2 separate regions of the Homo sapiens genome follow, and region 1 is linked to region 2. Evidence: promoter capture Hi-C in 16 types of primary human blood cells and fetal thymus (Javierre and others, 2016). All regions are on one chromosome and are shown on one strand. Each heading gives the region's core, a stretch centred on a gene start or on the middle of the fragment in contact. The rest is flanking DNA. Distances are from core to core; before and after follow the strand shown.

Region 1 (3,711 bases), core at 281-2,780, 450 kb after region 2:
TTTTATTTTTACATAATGAATAGCATTAATAGTTCTATGTCGTAGTCGTATCAGGTCTGAGCCTGAGAAAGAGCTGAGACTTTGCCATTGTACACATGGAGGAAGTGAAGCTCAGAGGGCCTTAGCTGCTTGCCTGAACTCACATCACAGTCAGTTGCAAAGGAGAGACTGAACCCACGTCTGGCTTCTCTACAGCTGGGTGCATCCTGCAGTGCCGAGTGTCCACAAGAACTCTCAGAACCTGGGTTAGTCTTCAGGAAGGACAATCAGTAAGGCTCAGAAGAATCTAGAATATATTCTTAGGGGAGTGAATTGGTCTTCTTTGGGGCTGCTAAAAAAAAAAATGAAAAACTTTTCTATCACAATTTTATCCTAGAAGAAGTTGGATGGATGAAATGACGTTTTAAAGATCTCATCATTCAACACAATGTTTGTAAATACTGAATGACTTTCACTACCTCCGCAAGTACCTCAATTTTGTAGTTCTACTATCAGCAATTTTTGTATTTTCAAAAAAGCAAATCACAGACGGCTTTTTAAAGAAAAAACATGGCTCTTCATATGAATCAGAGAAATGGACAGTTCAGCTCAAATTAGCCTCTTAAAATGTCTTATGTATGTGGAGGAAAAATAGAAGAATCACTTGTTTTGGGCCATAACTAAAGTCAGCCCTGACATGGATGCTAAAAATAAATGGTATCACCTCTCTGTGTGCTTTGAATCCTTCATGTACGAGGGTTCTAGCTTTTGGAGATAATGGTATCTCAGTTCACAATTTTTTCATGTTAATTACTTAACAAAATTGGTCTGTAGAGGATTTCTGCATTCCTTTATTTATAATTAGCACAATTCTTTAGAGACCCATTAACATTCTGCAGAGCTGAAGAGTTATTGTCAGATCTGCAGATGAAGGTGTTAAAAGTAGAACTTTCTGGCTTTTTTGTATAAGCCGAACTCTGGAAGGTGTTTCCAGAAGAATAACATGGCTTTGGAGCATCCTGTGCACATTGGCTTTAAACTGGATCAGGAATCGAAGGTTAAGCCAAAGTTTTCCGATTACCATTGATTGGTGGAAGATTGATCAGTGAGTGAAGCAATGAATGATTGGCCCACTTTACGTATGTTTCAAGCTTTTGCTTTGGAAGAAACTAGGGGAATGAAGAATAGTATTGTCATTGACAGTTAGAGACCATATCTAGATAATGTAGTGGACCTGATCCCCTTTAAAGTGTTTATTTCTGTCACCTGAAAGGTTTCTGATGGCATCATTAAGGTACAAAATCCCTTTCTCCAACAGTAAAAGTTAGTCCTGTCCAATTTTCCCTGGGCCTTCAGGTCTTTTTCCCAAGACATAGAAATAAAAGCAAAAACAACGTGATGTGGAACAAGCTTCTATCTCATGAGTTTATGCCGGGCACGGTGGCTCACACCTGTAATCCCAGTACTTTGGGAGGCTGAGGAGGGCAGATCACTTGAGGCCAGGAGTTCGAGAGCAGCCTGGCCAACATGGCAAAACCCCATCTGTACTAAAAATACACACACATAAAAAATCTCATGAGTTTAAAACTGGAAGACTTGTGTGTGCATTTCAGAAATTGATGGTCTTTGGAAAAGCACCCATGTAGGAAAAGTGATATAGTATGCTCAGGGCCAGGTGCCTTCTAAAGCTTGTTTCTTCCTTGGAAAACACCTTATTGTAATTAGTGGATCTGATTTTATTCTTAAGAGGGAAGGAGATAATGGGGAAAACAGTGTCCCATGTTATTAACAATCTGATATAATGGCGAATGGTTTTTTTTTCCTCATTGAAAACAAACATGATTGTAAAAATGCCTGTCTTTTGTTTCATTATTGTTATTCTCAATGTTTGGTGATAGATGCTTTCTCTAATATTTAATAATCAATCTGTTTCTTCTGTCTCTTGCATTCAGCTCATTCTCTTTCCTATTCTATCTGATCCACATCATTTCACATCAGTTTGCCATCTGCCATCTGAGCACCAGTCAAGTTCTGGTATAGTAAATGTTTCAAGATCTTCATTTCATATACAATTCATGTCACAGATGTTACTGGAATGATTGTTGCTAAATATAGCAGGTAACCATGTTGCCCTGTAGGTTTTGGATATATTCTGATCGTTACAACTACAAAAATAATTGCAACATATTTTCATTCATTTATACCTACTGATATTATTCACATGTGACCATGTGTCAGTTTTATTTCATGCTTTTACTACGTCATTCTGTGGCTTTGGATATGCTATAACCATTGGCGTTTAGAGAAAGAAAAGGTTACTTTGAAGGGGAGGGAAAATATCTTTAGAAATTCTACAATAGCACTTTGTGTGTGTGTGTGTGTATACATATTTCTGTATGCAGTGACTACATGTTTGCATTTGTGTATGCAGTAATTGCATGTTTGTATGTCTTCTAGAAGTTTGACTGAAATGGAAGAATATGAAGAAAAATAGCAAAACATAATGGATTAGGAGCTCTAAGGCAGTAAATTCTGAGACATGTTATCTATTTTAATTGGTGCAAACTATTTACTGAAAATATCTACATTGTGTTTTGCTGTTTCATCCTTTGAAATAGTCATAGTAAGATGCGAATTTAAAAAATTATGCCAACTAAACTAAAAATTGTTGTACCATAATACTTAGGGTATAATTTGCGGCTGCATTGCCTCAAAATGCATCAAATGCTAAGTAACTTAAGTACATGTACATTGGAAAACAAATTTATACCATTTAAATTTTTTCCTAACTGAATTTTCCTTGAATGTTTTACGAGTCTCAATTTTCTTTTGAGTTTTCACTTGAATGTTTTATGTCTAAAGCAAGGCCACACATTTAGAATTACTATGTTTAAATATTCATTAACATTTGAAATTCCTTTGCACAAAGATGTATTCTGAACATGGTTAGTTGTTTGACTTGCTTTGATATTGACTAACAGGTATCTAAGGAGCATAAAATTCTTCTTGATCGTTCTGATGATCTGATTTAATTAATTCATTAGGATTTTATTTTTATGTTAGACCAGCCGTGATTAACAAGGGCTCATAATTCAGAAACTTTTACCAAAATAGTAAGACACACTGGTATATATTTTGATCCAATGTCCTGTTTTGAGAGTAACTATTTACTGACCAAAATTAGGGCTCTTAAGTTACAAGTAAGACCATTATAATTTTCATGTTTGCTGCTTGTGCTGATTTTTATTTTTTAAAGTTATCAAGACATTATTGTAACTTAAAGAAGTTTGAAAAATATGATGGTTTGTGGCAATAATCTTTTTTTCCTTTTACTTATTTATTAATTTTTTTTGAGACAGGGTCTCACTCTGTCCCCCGGCTGAAGTACAGTGGTGTAGTCATAGCTCACTGCAGCCTTGCCCTCCCAGGCTCAAGCAATCCTCCCGCCTCAACTTCCTGAGTAGCCTACAGGGACTACAGGCTCACCCCACCATGCGTGGCTAAGTTTTGTATTTTTGATACAGACAGGGTTTCACCATGTTACCCAGGCTGGTCAAACTCCTGGGCTTAAGCAACTAGCCCACCTTGGCCTCCCAAAGTGATGGGATTACAGGCATGAGCCACCATGCCCAGCCAAGAATCATTCTTATTACCATTGCTATATTTATCATTCTTTAGTTCTCTGCAATGCATTACACAATTCAAGTGAGGTGCCTTGACATTCTCTGCATG
Region 2 (3,441 bases), core at 657-3,156:
CGACGTCAACAGATCGAGACCATCCTGGCCAACATGGTGAAACGCCGTCTCTACTAAAATATAAAAAATTAGCCAGGCGTGGCGGCGCGCGCCTGTAGTCCCAGCTACCCGGGAGGCTGAGGCAGGAGAATTGCTTGAACCTGGGAGGCGGAGGTTGCAGTGAGCTGAGATCGCGCCACTGCACTCCAGCCTGGGCGACAGAGCGAGACTTGGTCTGAAAAACAAAACACTAGTACTGGTGAATTATGTGGGGAGAAGTAAAGAGGGACAAAAAGAAGTCTGACAAATGAAACAGCAAAATGGAGTCAAATGCCAAAGAACCTTTTCCAGAAAATCTGGAGACCTATTAAAGAAAAAGGCTAAACTCATTATCTCCCTCACATATATTTCAGACATTTACACAGACTAACTGTTCCTGTCCTCTCACGTTTCTGTAAACCCCTTTAAAGACTGAATCTCATTCGTATAGTAAATATTCCCTCATGATTTTTAAGCCGAGTGCAAGAGAAAATTTTCCACCAGTTGGTAACTTCACTAAGGTTCTGGGGACAGTGTTATCACAAGCACCTTCCTTGCAACACGTTTTGTAATTTTACTGATAAAAGTTCTGAAAATATTTCTGTATATTTTACAAGAGTCGTTCAGAAGTTTGTCTCTGACCATCTTAGCAACCTGCCTACTGGCAGAGCAATTTTAAAGCCACTTTACGAAAATGTGGCTTAAGAAATGCTCCGACAACAGTTATTAAGTGCCAATTCGGTGTAATGGAAACTCCAGGTCTTCTAATTTCCAAATACGAAACTCCACCCACTGTCCTCAAACGACAGTTCTCAATCGTAGGTGCACATCAAAATCACTTTTGGAAACTTTCAAAAAACAGCAATACTCACCCTGCACTAGGACAGGTTTTGATGTAATTGGTCGGAGGTTGGGCTCTGGTGTATTTTTAGTAAGATCTTCAAATAAGCTAACTGTGCACCCAAAGTTAAGATCACTGCCCTCAAAAATCCCCAAAAGGGTCAGTTAAACCTCTGGCTCCCGGAGCTTAGGAGGAGGAAAAGGACCTCTGTTCAAGGCTACCTTCTCTGCCCTTGCAGCCCAATCATGACCTAGAACAGAGGCCAGCAAACTTCCCTGCAAAGTGTCACACAAACGGTCTCTGTTGCGTATTTTTGTTTTCCAAAGCCTTTTAAAAATATAAAAACCATTCCTAGCCTTAGAGCTGTACAAAAGCGAAGACTCCCTGACCTAGAGCGCTGAAGCCGGAAAGCGGAGAGGGATGCGAAGACACCAGGCGGGCCCAGGCGCAGTCGCCATCCCCGGGCTGGGCCTGGCACTGCGCCACTCGGTGTCCGCGGGACCCTCAGGAACGAGAACACGGCCAAGCAAGGGACGAGCACAGCCGCTCCAGGCACCACGACAGACCCGCGGCGGCGGCCCAAGGACCACAGAGGGCAGCACGCCCGCCCCCGCCCCTCCCCGGCCCGCGGCAATCCCTCCCCGCGCTCCCGCCACGCGCAGGCCCAGCCCCGCGGCGGCCTCGGTCCCACGCCCCGCGCCCGGGCCCGCCCGGTGACTCAGCACTTGGGCACCGCACCGCTGGGGGCGAAGGCACCGACCGGGCGGCACGGGCCGGGACCGGGCGCTGGACCAGGGCGGCCCCGAGGCCTGGCGGGCGACCCGCTCCTAGCAAAGGTGCGCGGGGGGACGAGCGGGTGGGAGCGGCCTCGCAAACAAGCCTCCGTCCCAGCCCTTGCCTTCTGCTCGAAATTGATGATGCCCTGCACTGGGCCGTCGCCCTTCAGCACGCACACGGCCTTCGTCGCCATAACTCGCTAGGCCACGCCGAGGTCCTGGTTCCGAGGACTGCAACGGAAACCCCAGACGCTGCAGGAGACTACGACGCAAACCAGCACCCCGTCTCCGCGACTACTTTATAGGCCAGACCTCCGCGCCTCGCCCACTCTGGCCCCAAACCAATCGCCTCGCACGCGCTCAGCCCGCCCCCTGCGGCAGCCTCGGGTCGCGAGTGGCCGGGAATGACTGGGGGCGGGGCCAAGGGGCCGCGTGCGCCGGAGACTCCCCCCGCCCCGCAGCCGGGAAACGTCCAGAACCCCGAAATGTGGAGAAAACAACCTTCTTTTCACGGGGGCGTGGCCCGCCGGTTGCAGTACGCGAAATTGGCAAAATGATGTAAACAGGGTACGCTTTGAAAATCTGAAGTCACTTTGTCTAGAAATGTCATTAGTTATGACTGAGTTTGGCCACAGCGTCTCATTTGTTACTCAGCAATTGGGACGCCCCAAGATGGATGCTTTTGTAGTTTTCATTTTTTTGTCTTGTTTTTTAGTTTTCTGAGGGTATAGAAAGTCGCTACACCTCAATCCCGGGACTTACCTTTTCTTCCCCTGCAATTTTCTTAGTCCTTAGTATAGAGTTTCTTATTTGGTTGGCAGAATTCGGTATTCTTTTTATATTTTTCCTGTTTGGCAAGGCCACAACCCTACAGATAACCAAACGGCAACTAGTTGGCTTCTAGGCATCACCTGCGTTTTTGTCTGGCCTAAAGGCCACAACACTCAAGGAGGGTAGAATGGTGAAATAATTTATGATGCCTCCATACAACAGGAATGATAAATATGACTTACCTTTCAAGGGAAATATTTCAAAAACATATTGTGAAATGAGAAAATAGTGCAAACTACTTTTGTCCGGGGCGAGGGGGTTGTTTGTTTGATTTTTGAGACAGGGTCTCGCTCTGTCACCCAGGCTGGAGTGCAGTGGCGCCATCATAGCTCACTGCAGCCTCCACCTCCTGGGTTCAAGCCATCCTCCTGCCTCAGCCTCCCAAGTACCTGGGACCACAGGCATGTGCCACCACACCTGGCTGATTTTTGTATTTTGGGTACAGATGGGGTTTTACCATGTTGCCCAGGCTGGTTTCAAACTCCTGAGCTCAAGCCAGCCATCTACCCACCTCGGCCTCCCAAAGTGCTGGGATTACAGACATGAGCCACCACGTCCAGCCTAGTACTTAATATTGAGTATGGCAAAATACTGAGACTTAATTGAAGTCCAGTGTGAAACAACAATAGAAGCTATTCCAGCCTCGTTTGGAGTACACTACTATCGATTTATTTACTTATTTATTATTTACGCTATTTAGACCCTCAGACTCTAATGCATCCTCTATCAGAGAAATACAATTCACATTTTTTTATCATCCTCTAGGAAGTATACATATTTGCAGTTTTGCCTGTTGTATTTGGTAGTAGTCTCCAGATAATTCGTATATTCTAAACGGTTGCATAAACAGTGCAAATGCTGGCCAAAGGGCCTTTGCCCAAGGCTAAAGTTTCTTTGGGTTCCAGGAAGTTCGGCAGATTTCAGTTCATTGTAAACTTGCCAAGGGATCCGCCCACAGACACGAGAGAGCTGCTT

The links. The method cuts DNA at HindIII sites, captures the fragments that hold promoters and counts their contacts. A CHiCAGO score of 5 or more calls a contact.
Region 1: a contact is called between a fragment that was not itself captured here and the fragment with the promoter of SOD1 in region 2, in 1 of 17 cell types (fetal thymus). The highest score is 5.0, in fetal thymus.

The regions. Positions count from the first base shown.
Region 1 is chr21:31,205,587-31,209,297 of GRCh38, reverse strand. The region is part of intron 11 of TIAM1 (TIAM Rac1 associated GEF 1); the gene reads left to right. Among named protein-coding and RNA genes, the nearest start is that of TIAM1, 140 kb to the left of the region's middle. The HindIII fragment of the contact is 278 bases long and covers 1,392-1,669 here.
Region 2 is chr21:31,658,158-31,661,598 of GRCh38, reverse strand. It overlaps SOD1 (superoxide dismutase 1), which reads right to left and starts at 1,906. Exons shown (of 5, transcript NM_000454.5): 1 at 1,758-1,906. The coding sequence starts at 1,829. SOD1-DT (SOD1 divergent transcript) reads left to right here and starts at 1,575. Exons shown (of 3, transcript NR_187558.1): 1 at 1,575-2,202. RefSeq lists enhancers at 1-54, 55-564, 1,064-1,263 and silencers at 1,424-1,703, 1,974-2,293. The HindIII fragment of the contact is 11,893 bases long and covers 1-3,441 here.